Linked DNA regions of Homo sapiens: all the other regions are linked to region 7. The links are contacts of gene promoters, found by promoter capture Hi-C in blood cells and fetal thymus (Javierre and others, 2016). All regions are on one chromosome and are shown on one strand. Each heading gives the region's core, a stretch centred on a gene start or on the middle of the fragment in contact. The rest is flanking DNA. Distances are from core to core; before and after follow the strand shown. Region 1 overlaps BCORL1 (BCL6 corepressor like 1). Region 2 overlaps ELF4 (E74 like ETS transcription factor 4). Region 3 overlaps RAB33A (RAB33A, member RAS oncogene family). Region 4 overlaps AIFM1 (apoptosis inducing factor mitochondria associated 1). Region 5 overlaps BCORL1 (BCL6 corepressor like 1). Region 6 overlaps BCORL1 (BCL6 corepressor like 1). Region 7 holds the start of XPNPEP2 (X-prolyl aminopeptidase 2).

The links. Contacts are between HindIII fragments. The CHiCAGO score rates a contact against its expected background, and 5 or more counts as called.
Region 1: a contact is called between a fragment that was not itself captured here and the fragment with the promoter of XPNPEP2 in region 7, in 4 of 17 cell types (M0 macrophages, neutrophils, activated CD4 T cells and 1 more). The highest score is 8.6, in M0 macrophages.
Region 2: a fragment that was not itself captured here is called in contact with the fragment with the promoter of XPNPEP2 in region 7 in 8 of 17 cell types (non-activated CD4 T cells, activated CD4 T cells, total B cells and 5 more); the score reaches 13.6 in non-activated CD4 T cells.
Region 3: a fragment that was not itself captured here is called in contact with the fragment with the promoter of XPNPEP2 in region 7 in 4 of 17 cell types (neutrophils, non-activated CD4 T cells, activated CD4 T cells and 1 more); the score reaches 8.2 in neutrophils.
Region 4: a contact is called between a fragment that was not itself captured here and the fragment with the promoter of XPNPEP2 in region 7, in 4 of 17 cell types (activated CD4 T cells, total B cells, non-activated CD4 T cells and 1 more). The highest score is 7.7, in activated CD4 T cells.
Region 5: a contact is called between a fragment that was not itself captured here and the fragment with the promoter of XPNPEP2 in region 7, in 9 of 17 cell types (activated CD4 T cells, total B cells, neutrophils and 6 more). The highest score is 12.8, in activated CD4 T cells.
Region 6: a contact is called between a fragment that was not itself captured here and the fragment with the promoter of XPNPEP2 in region 7, in 3 of 17 cell types (activated CD4 T cells, total B cells and M0 macrophages). The highest score is 6.2, in activated CD4 T cells.

The regions. Positions count from the first base shown.
Region 1 is chrX:130,018,982-130,022,611 of GRCh38, reverse strand. It overlaps BCORL1 (BCL6 corepressor like 1), which reads right to left. Exons shown (of 14, transcript NM_001379451.1): 5 at 1,462-1,627. Among named protein-coding and RNA genes, the nearest start is that of BCORL1, 38 kb to the right of the region's middle. The HindIII fragment of the contact is 4,204 bases long and covers 1-3,630 here.
Region 2 is chrX:130,102,892-130,106,436 of GRCh38, reverse strand. The region is part of intron 1 of ELF4 (E74 like ETS transcription factor 4); the gene reads left to right. Among named protein-coding and RNA genes, the nearest start is that of ELF4, 5.8 kb to the left of the region's middle. RefSeq lists a silencer at 2,549-2,843. The HindIII fragment of the contact is 182 bases long and covers 1,645-1,826 here.
Region 3 is chrX:130,174,812-130,178,564 of GRCh38, reverse strand. The region is part of intron 1 of RAB33A (RAB33A, member RAS oncogene family); the gene reads right to left. Among named protein-coding and RNA genes, the nearest start is that of RAB33A, 4.7 kb to the right of the region's middle. RefSeq lists an enhancer at 1,914-1,983. The HindIII fragment of the contact is 857 bases long and covers 1,349-2,205 here.
Region 4 is chrX:130,140,679-130,144,134 of GRCh38, reverse strand. All of the region lies in intron 6 of AIFM1 (apoptosis inducing factor mitochondria associated 1), which reads left to right. It also overlaps a transcript of RAB33A not described here. Among named protein-coding and RNA genes, the nearest start is that of AIFM1, 23 kb to the left of the region's middle. The HindIII fragment of the contact is 657 bases long and covers 1,878-2,534 here.
Region 5 is chrX:130,039,770-130,043,172 of GRCh38, reverse strand. All of the region lies in intron 11 of BCORL1 (BCL6 corepressor like 1), which reads right to left. Among named protein-coding and RNA genes, the nearest start is that of BCORL1, 59 kb to the right of the region's middle. The HindIII fragment of the contact is 3,769 bases long and covers 1-3,403 here.
Region 6 is chrX:129,997,403-130,000,686 of GRCh38, reverse strand. The region is part of intron 1 of BCORL1 (BCL6 corepressor like 1); the gene reads right to left. Among named protein-coding and RNA genes, the nearest start is that of BCORL1, 16 kb to the right of the region's middle. The HindIII fragment of the contact is 5,421 bases long and covers 1-3,284 here.
Region 7 is chrX:129,737,161-129,740,538 of GRCh38, reverse strand. It overlaps XPNPEP2 (X-prolyl aminopeptidase 2), which reads right to left and starts at 1,560. Exons shown (of 21, transcript NM_003399.6): 1 at 1,277-1,560. The coding sequence starts at 1,325. RefSeq lists an enhancer at 2,281-2,330. The HindIII fragment of the contact is 11,300 bases long and covers 1-3,378 here.

The DNA.
Region 1 (3,630 bases), core at 621-3,120, 280 kb before region 7:
AGTAGGAAAGTAGGAGGCCCCACTGCCCATAGGACTCTGAGGCTGCTGCACCTCAACAAAGTTCTGCTGGGCATGGTGGCTCACGCCTGTAATCCCAGCACTTTGGGAGGCCGAGGTGGGTGGATCACCTGAGGTCAGGAGATCGAGCCCAGCATGGCCAACATGGTGAAACCCCGACTCTACTAAAAATACAAAAATTCGCCGGGCGTGGTGGCACTCACCTGTAGTCCCAGATACTTGGGAGGCTGAGGAAGGAGAATCACTTGAACCTGGGATGCAGAGTTTGCAGTGAGCCAAGATTGTGCCACTGCACTCCAGCCTGGGTGACAGAGTGAGACTCCATCTCAAAAAAAAAAAAAAAAAAAAAAAAAAAAAGAAAGAAAGAAAGAAAATAAACAAAGTTCTAACTGAGCTGGAGCAGGTCCCAGAGGAGGGCAACCTCAGTGAATCTTGGAGGATTGAGTGAGGTGGGAAGATAGGAACAAGGAGCCAGTGAACAGAGAAAAAACGGCTAAGAACAGATGAGGCCGGACGCAGTGGCTGACGCCTGTAATCCCAACACTTTGGGAGGCTGAGGCAGGGAGATGGCTTGAGCCCAGGAGTTCAAGACCAGCCTGGGAAACATGGTGAAACCCCATCTCTTCAAAACTACAAACATTAGCCAGGTGTAATGGCACATGCCTGTGGTCCCAGCTACTCGGGAGGCTGAGGTAGGAGGATCACTTGAGCTCAGGAGGTTGAGGCTGCAGTGAACCGATATTGTGCCACTGAACTCCCTCTAGCCTGGGAAGCAAAGTGAGACTCTGTCTCAAAAAAAAAAAGAACAGACCAGAAGAGGCAGGTCATAGTCACGTCAGGTGGGCAAGACCATGAACCTGGACTCCTATGCTCAGGAATGCTGGGGATTCTCTCCCTGATAAGGGTGCCCAGAAACTATTAGTGGCAAAACGGACAGGTTAGGGACACATACCAGCCCCGTCATCCCAGATATCCTGTGTGTCCCTAAATGATAATAAACGTTTAAGATTTCTCTAAACTCTCCTAGCTAACTAGCTATTTATTTTTGTCCTTTCAGAATAGCAGTTTTCCAGTATACCCAAAGAAGACAGCGTAATGAACCCCCATTCCGTGGTTTTTGTCTAAATTCTCCTTAAACTTGTTTCTTTGAGCCTAGACCCATCGCGGGGAAATGGGTCGGCTACTGTGTTGTGGGCCTGGTGTTTGTGTCGGAAAACCACTTCCTTCAGCCTTATTCTAGCACCCAGGAGGAGCAGAAGGGGCCCCCGATCCTTGCTCGCTCACCTTAGACTTCAGAGGGGTCAATCATATCTTCTTTCCACAGTGAAGAAGTCTCACTTTTCCAGAGTGAAGGAGTCAGCGCCTGAGCCCCTCTGCCCTCACCACTGTGCCCTGGGGATCCCTCTGCAGCCCAGCCCAGAGGGCCAGGGCCGCGGGGCCTACCTTCCTCGTGGCTGTCGGCTCGTTTTCCTGGAGACTGGGACTCCGGCTTTGTCGGCTTCCGGTGCTTGTGCTTTCCCCTGACTCCATTGTGCTCTTTTCCTGAATCTGAAGCCCCCCTGGGGCTTTTCTTGGTGGATTCCTGGGGGTCACTGGGCAGCTTCCGGCACTGTGGAGAGGTAGAGGGTCAGGTCTGAGGTCAGTTTTGCTTCTTAAGAAAGCTCTCCAGGGGTTGAGCCATGTGTCCCGTTTCTGACCTAGAGGCATGAGCTGCCCAGAGTGGGGGACCAGGGGCAAGGGGCCGTGCACTGCCTTCCAGAGTGGGTGACAGGGGCTCTTTTGGACTGAGTCCAGGGCCCCAGCTAATCCCCATAGGCGTCCACATCCCATCACTTTAAAGAGGTCTACAGAGTCTGCGTTCAAAAGCCAGTGAATAAACACCCAAAGTCATTTTAAAAGGTGCAAAGTCAGGCCCCATACTCTCTGTACCCAAACACCAATGGAGAGACCGGCATTAAACAAAATGCCTCTTCTGCAAGTTGGGAGACTACATTGTTCAAATAACTTCACTGTGAATGGTATTGCACCAACAACTGAAAATAATTCTCAGTACAGGCCAACTCAAGAAAAATTGTCTCTTTTCACGTGTAAATTAATACCAGAAAATAGATTCAACTAAGGCAAGAAGAAAAACATGACACAGGAGCAATTCAAATATCCTCATATTTATAAAACCCAGTGAAAAGGCCCAAGCATTATTCATAATGCCACTTTATACTCTGTAGCACTTTCAGCCTTTCCAAATGCTCTCATCTCTATTATTGGATTTTATCCTCCCCACAACCCTGGGAGGAGAAGCTAATATTATCCCCACTGAACAGATAAGAAAACGGAGGCTCCAAGACAAAGGGTTGAATGACTTGTCCAGGGTAACACACAATCCCATGTGTCCACTGGCTCAGGGACTGCCACTTACCAGGCCAACCCGCAAGTTAGCACATTTGTGCTTGCAGTGAGAAAGACCCAGAATTGGGACTAGGACCCGGGGGTCCTGGCCCCCAGCCCGGGCCTCTGGGCATCAGCTCTCGCTACCTATCTTCCCTGAATCACTTCCTCGGCTGCTTCAGCTCAGCTTCTCCCACGCCCACTGCCTGGCACATCTAAGAGGCACAATGGCTGTGCTCACACACTGCAAGGACACTCTCAGCCTAACAGTCACGTATTCTCACGAGCTTTGAGGTCTCTCTGTGCCACTAAACAAGAAATAGGGCAATGTAGGGATTTCCAGTATTCTAGTATGCAGGGAGTGCAGAATAAGCAAAACGTTGGAACAATAAAAGCAGGTCCGAGGAGGAAAGGAAGGGTTAAACTTGCTTGAGCTGTTTTTCCCCTAAGCTGACCCATGCCTCGCCTGCTAGAAGGTTATCGTGGTGTACCTCCAGCTAAGGGGATGGCACATACCTTACTGATGGAACATTTTCGGGGGCTGGGGCCTCCTAATTCTCCAGGGACAGGGAGTCACCACTACCCATCAAATTCCAGGACTCCTCCTATCCCATGAACTCTTCCTGCTTCTTATTTTCAGCAGAGGCCTGAGCTAAAAATTCAAGTTCAGTTTCCCCCTTGGCTTGCTGCCAGTTCCTACAAACCAAAGTGTTAGGAGGAGGAAAGCATTGGTTGGAAAGAGGAAGATGAGGAACTACTGCTTAAAAACTAACCTTCAGGTACGGCTGGAGAAAAACTATTTTAAGTCAGGGGGAATAAAGTCAAATGCACATACATTTGAACATGTCCTATTTATTTCTGAATATCATTCTTAGCTGGCTCTTTCAAATGCAGATCATTAACTTTTACTTCCGAAGACAAAAACAAGTAAAACAGAACATCTAGCAGGGCGCGGTGGCTCAAGCCTGTAATCCCAGCACCTCGGGAAGCCAAGGCCAGCGGATCACCTGAGGTCAGGAATAAAAATATTTCGCACACTCCAACTTATGCATGAAGTTGGGAGGATGGGGAGACCGTGAGAGATGAACATTCTGGTTAACAGTTTTGAAATATTTTCCAAAGAGCTTTCCAAGGAATGAGAGGACAATAAAATACATCCAGCACCAAATGAAGCAGAACTCTCTCTCTTTGCTGGTGATGCAGAAGGCCCTTTAGGATCCTGAGAGG
Region 2 (3,545 bases), core at 486-2,985, 370 kb before region 7:
GCTGAGTTTCAATTCAACAGACATTTATTAATACCTACTGTGTGCCCAACCGATGCTAGGCGCCGTGGGGGAGATGAGAGAAGGAGGCGCTGGGGAAGAGATGACTAAGACACTGAAACAATCAGAGGCGAGGACAAGCAGCCGGGCCAGTGGCTGGTCAGGTGCTAATTGTGCTTGTTGGAGCAGAGGCCAGCACGGCTGGGACTGGAGGTCAGCAGCAGCTGGAGGAGGGAGGGAAGGCTTTGTGAGGGATGCGGGCCTAGGCTAGACCTTGAAGGGGGGAGAGGGGGAAGCAAGGGGGAGATTTGGCTCAGCAGAAAAGGAAGAAAAGACGCCTTTCTCTCTATTCCCTGGCCACGAACTGACCTTCGAAGCCTGGATGATTGTTTGGCAAATGTGTGTCACATAAAAGACCAGGTCAGCTAGTGTGGGTGGCTCAGTGCAAACCCCTGTCTCCACTCCGGGAGATATAAACTGGCTGGCCAGCCTGCCACCCAAGCTGAGGGGATTTCGTTTGAAACCCCTCCCTTACCAGACACACACACACACACACACACACACACACACACACACACACACACAGGCCCCTGGGGAGTGGGAGAGATGGCAGGGGAGACGTAGGGCACTTAAATGACAGGAAAACTGACATGCCACTTGTGCTCATGGCAGTCTCAGGCTGGCTGGATCCCACCTTTTCCCCAGGGTTCTGGGATTTCTCTGGAAGCCCAGAGCTTCAGGTGGAGGAAAGAGATTTTCATAATTGTTCCCCACTCCACCATCTGGGAAATGAAGAATGTAGAGTTTCATGTGTTTCTGCCCAGACCGCTAAGGACTAGCCATATATTGCTTCCACTGATTCTGTGTCTCCCAAGGCTGGACATGGAGGAAGCTTGGCCCTGGTTGGGTTTAATTGGATAAAAAACTCCCGGACATCCCCCTGCCACATACACACACTCATCATTTTCCCTCTCTCACTGCCCTGCCTCCTCCCCAGCACATTTCAACACCAAAGGGACATACCAGAGGGCCCTGACTTCTTGGTTGGGAAATCATGCCCTAAGGTGAGTTTCTCGGCAAAGAGACCCCAGCCTGCTTCCAGGGTGAGGAGGAGGGTCAGGGAGCAGGGAAGGGTGTTTCATGCAGGAAGGTCTGCAAGGGAAAGTGCCAGAACATTTCTCAGAGAGGCTAACAAGAAGCAAGCTGAGCAGCTTGTAGAGGCTGAGCAAGCTTTCCCTTGAGTTGCCACCTTCTTTTCTTTTTTTAATTTGAGGCAGAGTCTTGCTCTGTCGCCCAGGCTGGAGTGCAGTGGTGTGATCTTGGCTCACTGCAACCTCCATCTCCCGGGTTCAAGCAATTCTCCTGCCTCAGCCTCCTAAGTAGCTGGGATTACAAGCACCTACCACCATGCCCAGCTAATTTTCTTTTTTTTTTGTATTTTTTAGTAAAGACGGGGTTTCACCATGTTGGCCAGCCTGGTCTCGAACCCCTGACCTCAGGTGATCCACCTGTCTTGGCCTCCCAAAGTGCTGGGATTACAGGCATGAGCCACCGCACCCAGCCGAGTTGCCACCTTCTTGATGGGTCATTTTCTTGGCCCAGTGTGGGCACTTCCTGCCTCTCAGAACACCTGACTCTCCTGAAGCTTCCTTTCCTCTTCCAGTGTGACCCAATATCCTTCCCAATACATGTTATTGTCTAGAGGAGGAAGAGCACAGGCTCTCTACATTTATATGCCAAACTTACTGGCTGTGTGACTATTTGCTGTTGAGCTAGTTACTTAACCACTCTGGGAGTCAGCGCCCATCTCACAGGGTTGGAGTGAAGCTTAAATGAGACGATGCATATAAAGCACTCAGCAGAGTGCCTGGCATATAGTACCCACCCAGTAAGTGTTCACTGCTGTTATTATTATTCCTGTGACAGTTATTATTATTGTTGTCACCATTTCCCCTTCACACACCCTTGACTTTGCCAGGCTCTAGGGACCAACTACTTCTTCGGCAATGCGGGCAGGGCATGCCACACCCATTTCTGAAACTAAGCGGGAGATTTTCCAGGTTTTTCTGCTTTTTGTTAACTCGGCCATTGCACAGGATAGGGAAAGGATGTAATAGAAGGTGTGTGTGTGTGTGTGTGTGTGTGTGTGTGTGTGTGTGTGTAATATACTGAATGGCAGGCAGTGCTGTAGTGAAGAGCAAAACTCAAATCGTTAATATTTGTACTAACATTGCCTTCTTTAGTCCTTCACCATTTTCATCTTGAGCATCATTCACTGCAGAAATAAGAGTAAGTTAGTTTCTTTGAGAGGCCTAACGTTGTACTCCTGGGAACTATTTAGCAATCATCAGATTGTTGTTATTATCCTACTGAGTGTAAAATTCTGGGAGCCAACTGGCTGACTACCACTCACTCTCACCCTTCACTAGAATAGATGATGGGTCCATTCTGGGCCAATGCCCAGAGGCCTTGAGTTGAGGCTGGGGCACTGCCTTTGCCCAGAAGAGCTCCCAGGGGACTGGGGGCCAGTGCCCTTCCAGAGGCCTCCCAGAGAGTAACTTGGAGGTTCCATTTGCTATTGACTGGATTGTGTTTGCTTGAGGAGCCTGTGACCACCCGCAGGGACAGGCAGCCTAGGATAAACTGGACCACCCCTGAGTAAAGCACTCCACTCAGTCCCTTGGTCCCCACCCCTCAGTTAGAACTGCTAGGCTTTGGGGGATGGGAGGGTGGCAATTATTCTTAACCTCCCGAAATTCCTGATGACCCGATAACAAGGAGGTATTTAGACATAGAATGAGGAGCTAATCTTTTTCCTATAATGCCCCCTGAGGATAACAGAGGCTAGTTCAGCTCTGCTAATTCTATGAGAATCTATGCACAGAAAACACCTGTCTCATTAGATGACCACTTCTAATTAGCCATTCTAATAAGTGTGCAGTGGTATCTCATTGTGATTTTAATTTGTATTTTCCTGATGATGTTTGTATTGACTGATGATGTTGAACATCTTTTCATATAGTTGCTGTCCATATGTCTTCTTTGTTGAGGTGTCTGTTCAAATCTTTTGCCCATTTTTAAACTGAATTGTTTGTTTTCTTGTAGTTGAGTTGTGAGAGTTCTTTATATTTTTTGGATACAAGACTTTCATCAGATACATGCTTTGTAAATACTTTCTCGTAGTCTGTGGCTTCTTTTAATCCCCTTCTCAGTGTCTTTTGACTTTAGCAAACATTTTAAATTTTGATGAAAGTGCAACTTTTCAACTTTTCTTTTTATGGGTCATAGTTTTGGTGCTGTATCGAAGAACTCTTCCCCTAGCCTTAGTTCACAAATATTTTGTCTCATATTTTCTTTTATAGGTTTTATAATATTAGTCTTTACATTTTAGTCTATGGTCTGCTTTGAGTTAATTTTTCTGTATGTTGAGTGGTATGGATCCAAATTCTTTTCCTTCCTTCCTTCCTTCCTTCCTTCCTCCCTCCCTTCCTTCCTTCCTCCCTCCCTCCTTCTCTCTCTTTCTTTCTTTCTTTCTTTCTTTCTTTCTT
Region 3 (3,753 bases), core at 528-3,027, 440 kb before region 7:
TCAACTTCCCCAGGCTCAGGTGATCCTCCCACCTTGGCCTCCCGAGTAGCTGGGACTACAGGCATGCACCACCACACCCGGCTAATTTTTGTATTTTTTGTAGAGATGGGGTTTCCCCATGTTGCCCAGGCTGGTCTCAAATTCCTAGGCTCAAGTGATCTGCCCACCTGGGCCTCCCAAAGTGCTGGGACTCTAGGTGTGAGCCACCACGCCTGGTCTCTTTCTCTCTCTCTCTCTCTCTCTTTTCCAGACAAGATCTCATTGTGTCACCCAGGCTGGAGTGCAGCAGTGCAATCATGGCTCACTGCAGCCTCAACCTCCTAGGCGCAAGCAATCCTCCCTCTTCAGCCTTCGGAGTAACTGGGACTACAGGCACGCACCAGCACACCCAACTAATTTTCATATTTTTTTTATTTCATAGAGATGGGGTCCTCCTTATGTTGCCCAGGCTGGTCTGGATCTCCTGGGCTCAAGCAATCATCCTGCCTCGGCCTCCCAAAGTGCTGGCAAGCCACCTTACCTAGCAGTGATCTCATTTTGTTTGAGAGTTAGGTGTTCCTTTCTCAGCATCTTCATAAACCCCTGGCCCCTGCCAAGCAGTGAAAGCATCTCCTTCCTCTTTCGCAGCTGCCTCTCCTCTCACCCTTTCCTCCTTTCCTGTGGGCACCATATCCATACAGTGGATGGGGGTGAAGACTGCCTCTTAGCCACAGCCACATACATGTACCCCAGATCCTTGTTTCTGTCAGATGGCCAATGGGGTATAGTGGAGTCAAATCAACTTGGGTGCAGATCTCGGCCCAAGTCATGTTAGTACATGACTTGTTAGGTGTCCTTAGATAAGTTAGGTGTCCTTAGGTAAGTTACTTTCTCTGACTTCAGTGTCCTCATCTGGAAAGTGATGATAACAATAGTAATCAGGTAGGGATGCTATGAGGATTAGTAGTCCTTGTAAGTATGTGACCCAGTGCCTAATATACACTCTCCCTTCTTTCATGGCCTGAAACCTCCACCATTAAGTCTAGATGGGCAACAACTTGAGCAAGCACTGTTGGAAAGGCAGCAAGCATCCCAGCTCTTCTGCTCAGAAGCTGAGTAAATGCCAGACAAGTCTTTTAACCTCCCTGAACTGAGCCTTGTTTTTCTCATCTCTGCAATGGGACCTTGATCCTCCTATGGTTGCTGGGATGATCCAGTGAAATAACACATGAGAAAGGACTTTTGGAAAATGTCAAGCACTCTGCAAATATTAGTTGTTGCTCTGGTCTCAGAAAGGCCATCAAGCCCTCTCCTGTTGGTATGGTTCCTTGGGTCCATTGGTCTCTCATCCTGGAAATCACAGAAAGCTTGGCTTCTCGAAGGTGAGACAGAGCTAAAGGCCATCCAGTGGGGAGGGGGTGGAGAGAGGAATACTGGCAACATGCCATGGGTGGCCGGGGGCAGGCCCGAACTGATGGGGTGCTGGAGGAGGATGGAGGGGCACAGCATGGGGAACTGCCAAAGAGATATCTAACCTTTTGAACTATTTTCTGGGCGAGCTTCAGCAAGCCCCCAACCCCCTGCATGTGCTCTTAGCTGACAGGGGGATTTCTTTTCCCTAGGAAACATTAACTGGCATCTTTCTATAGATGAGGCATGAATGTGCTTTTGTTGGAGGCCGATGGGGGAGGGTAGAAGTGCAAAAAAAGGAGACAAATACATCTGTAACCTCTGGAGCATGCCCCAGTGGATGATGGGAAAAGTTTAAAAGAAACCTGTTTTCAACTAGCTGGACTGTCCCATCTGCATCTAAGATCCACACACAAAGCTGACACAGAGAATGGCAAAGGAGGACAGAGACAAAGAGAAACTCACACACAGAAAGAAGCAGCAAGGGAGACAGAGAAACTTACACTGATGGATAATTAACCATTAAGTTAACTGGCAGAAGATAGAAGCTCAGAAGCCCTAAGGAAGAAATGATGTCATTCTGACTGCAGGCAGCTTCCAAGGAACACTTAGCTCAGCCTCCATCCACTTGATAATGTAACACAGGAAGGTATTTTTTTTCCCCCAGTGATCAGTAGAGGAACAGAAACTCACAGTCCTGAGCTGTACCTGCCCATAGCCACAGCTGACCTGCAGTTTGTCTTGTCCCCAGGGCTGGGGCACAGGGAGTGCCCAGCCTGTGGGAGGAACCAAACTATTATAGACAGAAGTGAAGCTTCCATGCAAATATACAAAGAATGATTCAAAAATTAGTTTCTTAGCCTCCCCTCTACTACATACCCTCCCTCTCTACACACACACACACACCCCTATTCGGCATTTTCCAATGCATTTAGGAGACAGACTCAATAAATTTAGCTACATCTGTAGGTGACAGACACATCATAGTCATTAAGGGAAGCTCCACTCTTCCTTTGGGGGCTGGGGGATGCCTCCACCCTTCCTAGGCTGATGTCAGGAAAGACTGTCAGCTATCTCTTATGATGTCCCTCTGGATTCTTGTCATAGGTGGCCTTGTGGGTTGGATGGACCATGGAGCTAGGCTGGAGAGAGGATTTTGTGCCAGGCAGCATGATGTGTGGAAAGAGCACCAGAAAGGGAATTAGGAGACATGAGTTCTAGGCCTGGCCCTGTGTGATCTTGGGCAAGTCACTTTCCCTCTCTGAGTCTCAGTTTCCTATCTGCAAGAGGAGGACACTGGATCACAGAATCTGTAACATCTCTTTTATCTCTGAACATTTTCTGCATCTCACACCTGAGTTGAGATAATCAAGGTGCAAAAAGTAAACCCAGGGCTCCCGCCTGTAATCCCAGCACTTTGGGAGGTCGAGGCAGGTGGATCACCTGAGGTCAGGAGTTCGAGACCAGCCTGGCTAACATGGTGAAACCCCATCTCTACTAAAAATATAAAAATTAGCTGGGCATCATGGCAGGTGCCTATAATCCCAGCTACTCAGGAGGCTGAGGCAGGAGAACTGCTTGAACCCAGGAGGCCGAGGTTGCAGTGAGCTGAGATCGTGCCATTGCACTCCAGCTTGGGCAACAAGAGTGAAACTCCCTCTCAAAAAAAAAAAAAAAAAAAAAGTAAACCCAGTTGAGTTCTGTGTGTCCTGGATACAAATTGAAGGAGACATCTGAAAGGCTCCTGGGGGCCTTGGGCTATAACCCTAAGTCCCTGGCCTAGAAGAAAGAGCAAGACTGGCTGCCTGGCATTCTATCTCCCCCTGTCAAACTCCCCCAATCTAGGGGACTGAATATTGTCCTGTAGAGTGAAATGCAGTGGTAAAGGGCATGGTCTCTGAATCTGGGTTGAAATCGTGGCCCTGTAACAGGAAAGGTAGGATAGTGAGGTGGCGAAGTGCTTGGGCTCAAGAGTCAAAGGCTGAAGCTCAGATCCATGTGCCACTGGGTTATTTCATCTCTCTTAGCCTCAGTCTCCTTATCTATAAAATGGGAATGATAACAATACTGCTGATTTCATAAAGCTGCTGTGAGGAGTAAATAAGATAATGCATGTAAAGTGCCTAGCCTGGGCTCTTTGCTTATTCAATACATAGTTGTTATTATTATTATTATTATTGCCTACTCATTGGAGGCTTTTCTTGATGTTCATACAATTGAGTTCATCAGGACTCAATTGTAAATGCTTTGATGGGGTGAGGGTGGGGAACATAATGATTGGAGACAGCAAATGGGGCTTCAATACCCTAGGGATGGCCTTGATAATTAATTACAGTGTGGCTCTAACTACACCAAATCAGTTGT
Region 4 (3,456 bases), core at 957-3,456, 400 kb before region 7:
TAATCTTGTAAGCACAGTTCTTAAATGCTTTATGTGCACCATCTCATTTTATCCTCCCAATAATCTTATGAGGTAGGTATTATTTCCCTCTTACAGAGAAATAAGTTGAAATTTTTAAAAATAAATAAATTTTAAATAATTTGCCTAAACTCACATAGCTAGTAAGTGGTAGAGAGAGAATTTGAGCCCGGGTCTGTCTGAGCCACAGAATTGGAACCCAGCTATTCTGATTCCAGAGCCTAAGCTATTAATAACATCAGTGTACAGTGTACAGTACTTTTTTTTTTTGAGACAGATTCTCACTCTGTCGCCCAGGCTGGAGTACGGTGGCATGATCTCAGCTCGCTGCAACCTCTGCCTCCCAGGTTCAAGCGATTCTCCTGCCTCAGCCTCCCAAGTAGCTGCATGCGCCACCATGCCTGGCTATTTTTTTTTTTTGTCTTTTTAGTAGAGATGGGGTTTTACCATGTAGGCCAGGTTGGTCTCGAACTCCTGACCTCAGGTGATCCACCCACCTCGGCTTCCCAAAGTGCTGAGATTACAGGCATGAGCCATCGTGTCCAGCCAGTATTACTTCTTGATAGAAAGGTGATGAGAAGTAGGGAACACACTTGAGGCATGCTTAGGAGTCATGCTTGATGAGGCTTGGTGGTTGGTTAAAGGTAGAAGATGAAGGAGATGGAGGAGGCAAAGATGATTTTCTAATTTCTAGCCTGCATGTCTGAGTGGATGGCAGTGTACCCACAGCTGAGAAAGACATTACAAGAGGAAGAGCTAGTTTAAGGGGGAAGATAAAATTCAGTTTTGGACCATTAAGTATGAAGTGGAATATCTGCGTGAAGGTGTCTTCTGGGCAGTTGGACATATGACTGCCACGCCCAGGGGACTTGGGCTCAGATAGAGAGCTGAGAATCATCTGCATATGTGTAGAAGTTGAAACCATGAGAGTAGGTGAAGCCTCCCAGGGAGAACTGATCTGGTGAGAAGAGGAGGAAGGCAAGGATAGAGCCCTGGGGAACCCCAATTTTTAGGAAGCAGGCTTAAGAAGAACCCACAAAGGAGACTAGGAAAGAACTTAAAGAGCAGTATGAGGAAACCTGAGGACAGGAGCCAAGGTTGTAGGGAGTTTCAAGAAAAAGAATGTGATCCACAGTGTTACCGTGGCAGAGGAATCTGGGAAGAAAAGAACCGTAAAATGCACTGTGAGATTTGGCGGTTCAGATACCTTTGGGAGGCTGAGGCAGGTGGATCACTTGAGGTCTGGAGTTAGAGACCAGCCTGGCCAACATGGTGAAAACACATCTCTACTAAAAATACAAAAATTAGCCAGGTGTGGTGGCGCACACCTGTAATCCCAGCTACTCAGGAGGCTGAAGCACGAGAATCGCTTGAACCCAGGAGGCGGAGGTTGCAGTGAGCCAAGATTGCATCAGTGCACTCCAGCCTGGGTGACAGAACAAGACTCCATTTCAAAAAATTAATAAAATAAAACAGATACCATTGGGAAGTTAGAAAAGAGGGTAAAGCACTCTTTCAAAAGATTTAAATGAGAAAAGAGAGATGGCAATCGGATAAAAGCGTGAAGAGGACATAGAATCAAAGGTGGGACCTATTGGATGGGACAAGCATGTTAATAGGCTGGACGGGGGTGGTGGGGAGCCCTCATGCCTCATGGGAAGCTATGGAAGATCACATCTAATGGCTTCATTTGTTTTTGCAATACAATAGAACATAAGATGGTTATCTGAGAGCGAACACCGTGAGGGTTGAGTAGCGGGATTGGATTGAAGAGGGAGCTTACCAAGGACAAATCAAAGGAGGCTAAAGAAGCTGCTTATCCATCAGATCTCAGTTCATGTCATTGCCTCTAGAAAGCTTTACCCAACCCAACCTGACTAGATTGCACATGTCATATGTTCCCAGCGCTACCTGCACTGTTCTTACCACTTACATCACATTTGTCACTCTTGATTATTGTTAGTGCTTGTTAAATTGTCTTGGCCACTAAACTCTGAAAGCAGCAAGGATCACTGTCTCAACTTGATACATAGTAGGTGCTTAATTGAATGGTCTCAGCTAGTAAAGAGTGGTGCAAAGACTGGGGCCCTATTCTCTCTGACTCCAAAGCTCAAGCTCTTAACCATAAGAAGGAGTAGGGTGCAAGGGAATTAAAGGTACTGGCAAAAGAACAGTTTGGGTGTTCTACCATTGGCCCAAATTAGTTAGAATGGAGCAGCTAGTCAAATAAACAGAGAAAATTGAAAGCAAGCATAGGAGACAGACTGAGCGAAAGCTGAAGGGATGGAAAATTGTGACCAACAAGTAGAATAATTGAGGTAGGAGGAGAGGTTTAGGAGATAACAAGATGAGGAAAAGTATGAGCCAGGTTCCAAGGTCTTCAGTGAATCAGGAGGAGTAGCCAGGAGGTGGCTCAAAACAGTGATTCGTAGGAATATAGGACTCCTCTGATGTCCCTCAGAAGAGAATGAAAGTACAAGAATCTGGAAGCAGCAGACCAGTAACCTCAAGAAGCTTGCAGAATGCCAACACCTCCTCCTGGCCTTGTGATGTGGAGTGTGGGGGAACGAACAGCCTCTATGTGTAAGCTCTCCTTAAGAGAGAGCCAAGTTTCCGTGAAGGCTACAAGTTGGAGAAAGCATTCTGTAAAAATGTTGTAGATGTAGGAGACTTATTAATAAAGTAATAATAAGTAATTCCAAACAGCCATATAAGAAAGGCTGTTCCGATTCTCCTTTTCCACACATGGGTCAGGGCTTTGGGACTGTCATGACTTGCTCTAATGTTGCCTGCCTTCTCATTGCCAATTTCCAACATATGACTGCCTAAAAAAACTGGGTACCAGAAACTGTGGTTCCCATGATTACTTGGATATGGTTTCTTAAGGATCGCTTTAGGTCAAGAACTCATTCTTCTTATTGGGCTGACAACTTTTTTTGTTTTTGTTTTTGTTTGTTTTTGTTGTTGTGGTTTTGGGGTTTTTTTGTTTTGTTTTGTTTTTGAGACAGAATCTTGCTCTGTTGCCCAGGCTGGAGTGCAGTGGCATGATCTCGGCTCACTGCAACCTCTGCCTCCCAGGTTCAAGCGATTCTCCTGCCTCAGCCTCCCCAGTAGCTGGGACCACAGGCATATGCCGCCACACCTGGCCAATTTTTGTATTTTTAGTAGAGACGGGGTTTCGCCATGTTGGCCAGGCTGGTCTCAAACTCGTGGCCTCAGTGATCTGCCTGCCTCAGCCTCCCAAAGTGTTGGGATTACAGGCATGAGTCACTGTGCCTGTCCTGGGCTGACAACTTCTTATTGACCTGGAGTTTTGGGGTGGTGATGGAAATGTTCTGAAATCAGATAGTGGTGATGGTGGCACAACCTTGTGAATATACTGAAATCCACAGAATTCCACACTTTAAAATGGTGAATTTGATGTGAATTATATCTCAA
Region 5 (3,403 bases), core at 298-2,797, 300 kb before region 7:
ATAGTCATAGCTACTCGGGAAGCTGAGGCAGGAGAATCACTTGAACCTGGGAGGCAGAGGTTGCAGTGAGCTGAGATCATGCAACTGCATTCCAGCCTGGGTAACAGTGAGATTTGTCTCAGGAAAAAAAAAAAAAAAAAGAGAATGTACTAAATCCCACTGAATTGTTCACTTTATTTTTTTTAATTAATTAATTTTTTGAGACGGAGTCTCGCTCTGTCGCCCAGGCTGGAGTGCAGTGGTGTGATCTCAGCTCACTGCAAACTCCACCTCCTGGGTTCAAGCAATTCTCCTGCCTCAGCCTCCCGAGTAGCTGGGATTACAGGCATGCACCACCACGGTCCAGCTAACTTTTGTATTTTTAGTAGAGAGGGGGTTTCACCATGTTGGTCAGGCTGGTCTCCAGTTCCTGACCTCAAGTGATCCACCCACCTTGGCCTCCCAAAGTGCTGGGATTACAGGGGTGAGCCACCACGCCTGGCCCGAATTGTTCACTTTAAAATGATTATGTTAGGTAAATTTTACCTCAATTTTTAAAAAAGTCCCTGAGTGCTGTCCTCTCACACACCCTACAAACAGCCTTTGGGCCTAAGGGCCCCCTGCTTCTTGAGAGCCTGCTGACTCCTGCCAGTGCCTGCCTTCCTGTGGTGGTAGGCCAAGGTCCCAGGCTGCCTTTGCATGGAAAAGAGCTGGTGCACTTTATAGCAACCCATTGGCTCCTGACTCCCATTATTAAGCCTGATTCATGCCCATAAATTGAGCAAAAGGTCTAAATGAAGACTGGGCATGGTGGCTCACACTTGTAATTCCAGCACTTTGGGAGGCCAAGGCGGGAAGATAGCTTGAGCCCAGGAGTTCCAGACCAGCCTGGGCAACATAGCAAACCCCGTATCTCAACAAAAAGATAAAATACAAAATTAGCTGGGACCGGTGGCACACACCCGTGGTCCTAGCTACTTGGGAGGCTGAGGCAGGAGGATTGCTTGAGCCCAGGAGTTTGAAACTGCACTGAGCTATGATTGTACCACTGCACTCCAGCCTCGGTGACAGAGCAAGACACTGTCTCTAGTAATTTTTAACAAATCTAAATAAAGGTGCTCAGCCAGGACAAGTTAGGAAGTGCTGGAGTCTCTAGCCTGGGCAACACAGCAAGACTCTGTCTCAAATATATATAAACACATATACGTACATACACACACACACCACAAATATGTGAAGTACTAGAGTTAAGAAAAGTCTTCTCTGGGGCCGGGCGCGGTGGCTCACGCCTGTAATTCCAGCACTTTGGGAGGCCGAGGCGGGCGGATCACGAGGTCAGGAGATCGAGACCATCCTGGCTAACATGGTGAAACCCCGTCTCTATTAAAAATACACAAAAATTAGCCGAGCTTGGTGGCGGGTGCCTGTAGTCCCAGCTCCTTGGGAGGCTGAGGCAGGAGAATGGTGTGAACCCGAGAGGTGGAGGTTGCAGTGAGCTGAGATCACGCCACTGCACTCGAGCCTTGGCGACAGAGCAAGACTCCGCCTAAAAAAAATAAAAGTCTTCTCTGAATTCTGCAACATAGACTGGCATTCAATTTAGTTTCAGGAGGTGTCAAAAAGCTGGCTAGCAGAAGTTCGAGACCAGCCTGGCCAACATGGCAAAACCCTGTCTCTACTAAAAATTCAAAAATTAGCCGGGCATAGTGGCGAATGCCTGTAATCCCAGCTACTCAGGAGGCTGAGGAATGAGAATCGCTTGAACCCGGGAGGCAGAGGTTGCAGTGAGCCAAGATCGCGCCAAAAACAAAACAAAACCAAAAGATAGCTAGTAGTTGGGATGAGGAGACAGAAAGATAAGAGAAACGTGTTTATTTCTCTCCTCTCTGTCTCTTTTTTTTTTTTTTTTTTTTTTGAGACACTGTCTCACTCTGTTGCCCAGGCTGGAGTGCAGTCACCATACCTGGCTAATTTTTAAATTTTTTTGTAGAGACAAGGTCTCCGTATGTTGCCCAGGCTGGTCTCAAACTCCTGGCCGGAAGCAATTCTCCTACCTGAGCCTCCCAAAGTGCTGGGATCACAGGCATAAGCCACTGCGCCTGGCCTATTTCCCATTTTTTAACTACTTAAAATGGTTTCCACATTCCTACTCCTTAGGGGTTTTGGAGAAGGGATTGGGGAAGCAAAGAGTTCATCTGTTTACTAAGGTGGTCACAGTGTTATTTAGATCTAGGAGCCCCTGAGACCCTCGGGATGGCAGTTTCTAGCCTAAGGAGGCCTCGGGACTAGACCGGTTTCTCAAAGACAGAGCTGCGTGTGGTGCCTTTGTCATATCAAGATGCTCTGGATGCTTGTTGGTCTCAGATTTTCCTGGGAATCCAGTGGAGTGCAGATAACACGTGTATGTGTCTAAGAGAGAGTGCATGTGTACACAGTACGTGGGAGGCAGCTACCAACGGTGGCTTGCCCCAAGCCCTGCACCCCTAGGGATGGTTCAGCTAAGGGGAACAACAGTCACCACTGGCCCAGGACAAATGACTGAATGAACATTCCAAGGCTGCTCTGCGCCTCAAGGACAGGGGCTTGGGAACCCAGAGCTGGAGGGAGGGAAAACAGAAAAGGCAGCCATCCTGCCCCCAGCCTGGGAGATGCTAGTCAGGCTGTACAGGCCTAAGGCCTGTGCTCCAAGGTTTAGTCAGCTCAGCTGAGACCTGGGTGGAGGCTGGCTGAGCAGGAGTCAAGATCTCCCGCGACAGCCTCCTATTACCCCCCACTCACCGCCTACCTAGTCCTCCCCTTCCATAAGAGCCTTTAGTTAGGTCCCCTTTGTTTCTTCCTCCATCATCAGCTACTTAGTTAACCTTTGTTGGATAAACAAATGAGCCCCTGGTTGGGAGCCTGGAACCATATATCTGGAGGTATAGAGGTTCGGGGCTAACTAGGGCCAAAGTCTGGGTGAGAAGAGGGAGCAGCTTTGGGCCAATCCTTAGTCCTGTTGGCTCCTGGCCAGAGAGGGGTTCTAACCACAATACAAACACTGCAGCCTCCAAGAAGGTTCAGAGATACAACTCCCAGCTGCTCCGCCGCTCAGGCAGTCTGAAGAAGTCACTGCTAGAGCAAGGGCCAAACTGTGATGTCACTAAGAGGCAGGGTTCCTTTATTCAGAGGTCAAGTCTGAGGAGATTCCTACTGAGCATGCCCAAGCTAGACTCCCCTCCTTCCCTCCTCCCCCTGCCCAACTCAGTAGAGCTATCTAACTGCAGACAAACAGCTGCTATCCACTAATGAGAAAATAAATGCATGTTGGCTTGTGGCCCTTGCCATGGGCCTCAACACCAGACACTTTACAGAAGGGGCAGGTGAGGGAGGAAAAGGAACGGAAGGAAGGGGGACCCTGGGATGCAGAGGGAACATCACAGTTCCC
Region 6 (3,284 bases), core at 303-2,802, 260 kb before region 7:
TAGAAAAACTACTTTTGCCTCCATTTGCAATTTATTTCCTTTACTCCATATAAATTTGTGCTTTTTGACTTTTTGTTTGAACCAGCTATAACATCTGTCTGGTTCTCTTGTTGATTAATGAGTAAAATAAAATCTTTAACACGTGTTCATTTTTGTATCTGTACGAGAGTCATGATTTTTTACCTTTTTTCTGACAATTATCTTTTAACATTATGAAGACAGTTATGTGGGTTAGCATAATTTTAGAAATATTTTTAACAAGGACCCCGTTCCCTGAACATCCTGGTTAATCAAGTTTTGACTGTTTCTCAGAATATCTTGGAATATCCCCATTTTAACCAACAACACTGGTTGGGCACAGTGGCTCACACCTGTAATCCCAGAACTTTGGGAGGTTGAGCTGGGAGGATTGCTTGAGTCCAGGAGTTCAAGACCAGCCTGGGCAACATGGCGAAACCCCATCTCTACAAAAAATTAGCCGGGCATGGTGGCGGGTGCCTGTATTCCCAGCTACTTGGGAGGCTGAGGTGGGAGGATCACCTGAGCCTAGGAGGTCAAGGCTGCAGTGAGCTGAGATTGTGCCACTGCATTCCAGCCTGGGCGACAGCAAAATCCTGTCTAAAACAAAAACAAAAACAAAACCAGCTCAGCCTATTGGCTGATACCCCAGGTACTCATTTCATCTTTTCTCTCTACTAAGCATTAGAGGACTCGGCCAGGCATGGTGGCTCACACCTGTAATCCCAGCACTTTGGGAGGCCGAGACGGGTGGATCACCTGAGGTCAGGAGTTCGAGACCAGCCTGGCCAACATGGTGAAACCCCATCTCTACTAAAAATACAAAAAATAGCCGAGCGTGGTGGCAGGCACCTGTAATCTCAGCTACTCGGAGGCTGATGCAGGAAAATTGCTTGAACCCGGGAGGCAGAGGTTGCAGTGAGCCAAGATCGCACCACTGCACTCCAGCCTAGGCGACAGTTAAGACTCTGTCTGGGGGGGGGGAAAAAGAATTAGAGGACTCAAGCAATGGAAGGGGCTGTTCTTGCCATAAAATGCATTTCAGGCCCAGAGCAGTGGCCTGTAATCCCACTGTAATCACGCCTGTAATCCCAGCACCTTGGGAGGCCAAGGCAGGTGGATCACTTGAGCTCAGGAGTTCAAGATCAGCCTGGGCAACATGGCAAAGCCCCATGTCTACAAAATACAAAAAAATAGCCGTGTGTGGCTGTGCAAACCTGTGGTCCCTGCTACTTGGGAAGCTGAGGTGGGAGAACTGCTTGAGCCCGGGAGGCAGAGGTTGCAGTGAGCCGAGATGGCGCCACTGCACTCCAGCCTGGGCAACAGAGGGAGACCCTATCTCAAAAAAAAAAAAAAAAAAAAAAAAAAAAAGATGTGTTTCAACACAAAGTACAAGTTTTAGTTGCTACTAAATATCTATAGGCAGCAGGTATTAGTGACACTAGATTTTTCACTCTCAGGTTTCGTATTGCTCTATTTAGAGAGGATTAGGATTAGTAGTATGTAGGGTCTGGGACAGAAATCAGAGGGGGAACACTGGCATTTGGAAACAGAACATCATACAACATCACCTAGATAAAGAGCTTTCAGGCAAAAAAAAAAAAAAAACCACAAAAAATAAAACCGAGTTAAAATATCAAAATAATTACTATATAATACACATGTTATGACCACGTAGAGAGCAACGCTGATTCTGGATAACTCCATTTTCACAAGATCCTCAAGATGGAGCATCCACTTAAATCTTTGCCTCTCAATTTTCTATCATGATTTTGTCCCAGGAGCGCCACTTCCTATCTGAAGCCCACTGTTGCTAATTAACAGTAGCCTCTGCAGATGAGAGGAGAGGAGGGGAGGGATAAAACACAGGCAGGAGAACACTGACACTGAGCTACATGGTCTATACAAGAAGGCAAGATTGGTCTTCCCCAGCCAGAGGGAAAGCAAAGGGAACCTCTAAAGCGGCCCTAGAGAACAGACTCCTGACTGCGTGAATGCTCACAGAAGGGAGGAGTCAGGACGGTCAATGTCAACCAATGTTTCCCCAGCCAGAATCACCGAGGAGCTTGTTCAAAATACAGATTCCTAGGTCTCAGTCCTGGAGATTCTGATTCAGTAGGCCTAGGGGTTTGTTTTATTATATTATAGCCAATCAAATTAGTATCCCAGGAGAGGTGAGCAAAAAGGAAAAGCCTTGCAGGCATGCCACACTTCGTAAGCGCTGCTGGTTTACACACTTGTATGCTGGCTTGCTTTTGCTTGAAGCACCGGTACTCATGTGTTCTCCCTTCCCACCTCCCCCCACCACCCCGCCTACTCTCCCTCTCTCTGATGGAAATCATCACATCAAAAGCAAAGTTCCAAAAAGGAACTTGGAAGAAACCTGGTAATCCCAAATGACCCAGGAAGCACAGGCACAAGGATATGAAATACCTCAAAGGATTTTCCCAGATGTCACAACCATGTAATTGTTAAAGAAATGAACAGCTGCATGGCCCAAGAATCAACCCTGGTCACTGCCTGGAAGGCAGAGGAACCACTGTGAGCTATCCCTACTTTGGGGGAAAAAACTCAAAAGATATATCCAACTCATGGTGAGGACAAAGGAGAGCACGTGCTCTGCCAATCCAAAGCCATAAGTGTGGCTGGGAAAAAAAAATACATATATATATATATATATATGTAAAACTTCAATTTAGGAGGCACATGCACAGAGAAGTAAAAGGCCTACCCAAGATCCCAGGAAATGAATCCAACAGGTGGGCAGCCAAGAGTAGGTAGCCAGAGACAATCACCACACTACAGAACAGGGGAAACCAAAAAGAAAAGGAACTAATGAGAGAGCAATAACTTTTTTTTTTTTTTTTTTTTTTTGGTGAGTCGGAGTCTCGCTCTGTCACCAAGGCTGGAGTGCAATGGCGCGATGTTGGCTCACTGCAACCTCCGCCTCCTGGGTTCAAGCGATTCTCCTGTCTCAGCCTCCTGAGTAGCTGGGATTACAGGCATGGGCCACCATGCCCGGCTAATTTTTGTATTTTTAGTAGAGACGGGGTTTCACCATGTTGGCCAGGCTCGTCTCGAACTCCTGACCTTCCGATCCGCCCACCTTGGCTTCCAAAAGTACTGGGATTACAGGAGTGAGCCACCGTGCCTGGCCGCAATAACTTTAAAATGGTGAAAAATAGCAGCTAAGCTGAGGGCGAGCGGGTAGTGGAAGAGAAACCATAATGAAGCAGAGATCTTTAAAACAATCCAAATAGAACACA
Region 7 (3,378 bases), core at 311-2,810:
TCCTGCCTCAGCCCCCCCTGAGGAACTGGGATTACAAGCGTGCGCCACCATGCCTGGCTAATTTTTGTAATTTTAATAGAGACAGTGTTTCACCATGTTGGCCAGGCTGGTCTCGAACTCCTGACCTCAAGTGATCCGCCTGCCATGGCCTCCCAAAGAGCTGGGATTACAGGCATGAGCCACCACGCCCAGCCACACTTTCGAGTGGGCTGAGCTACAGATGCAAGGAGGGTGGCTGGGGTTCAACACCATGAACGTCCTGTGTGATTTTATCTTGGTCTCATAAACTCAAGGATCAGATGCGACCCATACTGTTCATTTAAGAAAACAAACACCCATTTCTGTAGAAACAGATCCCTGGCAAAATGTTGGCACTGATATGCTAACATAAGAATGAGGACACAGCCAACTTATGTCTCTCTGGACACCAGAATATGCTGTTCTCTGAGGCCAGGGCTGTGGCTCCCAAGAGCAGGCTCTGCAGCTGAATGACTCTGTGGTCCCTGGCACAAGGCCTGGCACTGGGTAGGTGCTCAGGAACTGGACATTGAGTGACTGATCAGGCCCTGCTGACAGACAACAAAGAAAGGAAGGCTAGGGTGGGAGCGCTGGGCTGGGCACCTAGTTGAGGACAGAGAGGGTGCCGCAGGAATGACAAAGAGGAAAGACTCTCTTCCTGACCAAAGTTTAGTTAGGCTCCCCCAAAGCCTCTTCTCCACTTGGCCTTGACCTTGGCCTTCTGTGTCTGTCCTGCCCTTGCCAGGCTTGCATCACCCAGTCTTAGCAAGAATCTTGCTAAGTCAGTTTAGACACCCTTGATATCTGATCACTCTGGCCTGCCGTCAGCAAGAATGCTGTTCAGTCGGTTTAGCAAGAATCCCCCTACCCTTGCTATCTCCTCTTAATACTTTTCCATCCACTGACCCCCTCACTCTGCTCCTTGGCTACAGATCCCTGGAAGTCTTTTCTGTAATCAGAGTTGAGCCCCATTTCTCTCCTCTATTGCAATGCGGTAGTCTTAAATTAAGTTTTCCTTACCGTTTTAACGAGTGTCAGAATATTTTTTTTCTATAACGGGGGGAATGGAAAGGTGCCAAACCAGACTCGATCCAAGTTATGAGGGCCCCCAACACTGGCCCTGAGGTGTCTCTTCCTCAAGTCAGAGAGAGGAAGCAACAGAAAAAGAGACTCGGGCCCCAACCCTCACTCCAACCCTTTCTGAGCTCAGAGGGGAGAGGTCAGAGCTGCCTTCCAGTGGAAGCTAGGATGCACATACCACAGAGGAGGACCAGCCAGGGGCAGCAGCCCCAGTGAGCCCGGGCCATAGGGTCTCCAGATGCCGGCGCTGGGTGGATGGAGGGACAAGGGAGAGAGGGAGGGCTCTTTCCCCGGCCTCTTCCTTCAGGCCTTTCCTGGGCTCGAGCAGACAGAGGGTGGGGGCTGGCGTCAAGAAGGAGGCGTCTGGCTGCTGGGTGGAGAGTGCTTCTCTGGTCTTTTGTTTTGGAGGGCTCTGGGAGCCAGGGTGGGCAGAGGAGCTTTGGGCTGCCCGAGGCGGACTGTGCAAGTTCCTAGTCGTGTAGGATAGGGTGTGAGGCTATCCTGGGCAGAGTCCAAAGATCTCAGAGACAGAGGCACAACAGCTGGTCTCAATCAGCCTGCTTTTCCCAGCCCCCTCTCAGCGGCAGAGCCCCAGCCATTCCTTAATTCGGTCCCCTTCCCTCCAGCAAGCTGATTCCCATTAGCTCCCACACTCTGGGCTCTGGCTCCAGCACTGCTTTTGCTGTGGGGATGGAGATTTGCCTCCTGCTGCTGCTCCTTTTCCTCCCCACCTCTTCTTCCTCCTCGTTTTCCTTCTCCTCCTCCTTTTTCCTCCTTCCCCTCCTTTTCTGGGCTCCTCCACTTCCTCTTCTTCTTCCTCCTTTTCCCTCCTCATCCTCCTCCTTTTTTTTTTTTTCCTCCTTGTCCATTTCCTCCTCCTCCTCCTTTTTGCTCTTCCTCCCCCTCCTTTTTTCCTCCCTCTCTTCCTCCAAGCTGACTGGAAAAGCCAGTGTCCTCTCTTCTTGTAGTGCTTGGCAAGTCCCACTGTACCCCTTGGGAAAGTTGGTTGTGACTGGAGAGTTACTTTCTTGAGCTGGGATGAGTCCCCCCAGGAGTGCCCACTCTGAAGAAGTGATGCCAGCTCTTCCCTTGGGATCTGGGGAGTCCCATTCCCCTGCATTTTCTGAACCTGCACTCTGGGGAACCGAGGCTGTTAGAGCCACTCACACCTGGGAGGAAATGAAAGCCCAAAGATGCCCCTATCTGGAGGGTTTGGGGGATGCCACTGAATAGGGAAGAAGACACAGAAAGGGGAGTTTGGGCGCTCTGAGAAGACTAATTTGGTGAACTGGAAATGCTGTTTCTGCTGTAGCTTCTAGAACAGGGATTTGGTTACCCTGAAGTGTGAGTCACTCGTAAACAACACAACTCCCAATGAGGGAAATGGAGAAGCTGAGGCCTGCCTTGTCTTCACGCCCAGCTGAATCAGAGGGCAGCTTCAAGGCAGCTCCTAGTAAATGCTCTACAGAACCCTTGCTCTTTGGGTTCGAGGAAGGTGATTTCCCAGAGAGGAATGCTTTAGAGAGACAAACAGACCCAATGGGGATGGATGCTCACCTAGCCTGGAGGGCCCCAGAGGCAAACTGCCCATTCCTTTTGTTTCTATTTTTATTTTTGAAACAGGGTCTTATTCTGTTGCCCAGGGTGGAGTGCAGTGGCATGTTCTCGGTTCACTGCAACCTCAGCCTCCCGGGCTCAAGTGATTCTCCAGCCTCAGCCTTCTGAGTAGCTGAGACCACAGGTGCGTGTCACCATGCCTGGCCACCATTCCTTTTGTTTCTATTTTTAATGGATTTACAGTCTGCTTATGTCCACATCAAGTGTAAAGCAACTTTCAACCATCCATTCAAGAATGACAAAATAGGCCATTTTGAAGAGGGAAAACGGACCTTCATGGGAGTCTCTGAAGGGGCAGAGTCAAAATGAGTGAGGTGGCCCAGTGAACTTCATTCTCAGGAATAAAAGCAGAGGGCAGGAGCCCACAGCCTCAGAGGACAGACCAGGGACAAGGAGAACATGAGAATGCTGTCATTCAATAACTGCTGAAGCTCCCGCAGCCTTTTCCCCAGGCTCCTCTCTCCCACCCCTTCCAGGACTGGTAATGAAATTATTCCCAGAGACCAGAGCACTGGAAAATGCCCCCTCAAAGACTCCTGCCTCCTCTGTTTGCTGCAGTAGCCATCCTGAAGGGCAAGCAAGCAGGTAGAGCTGATGGGATTTTGCAGGGGAAGACCCCTGAAGATAGCCTTTGAGGACAAACATGGTCCTGTCTTTCTGTCA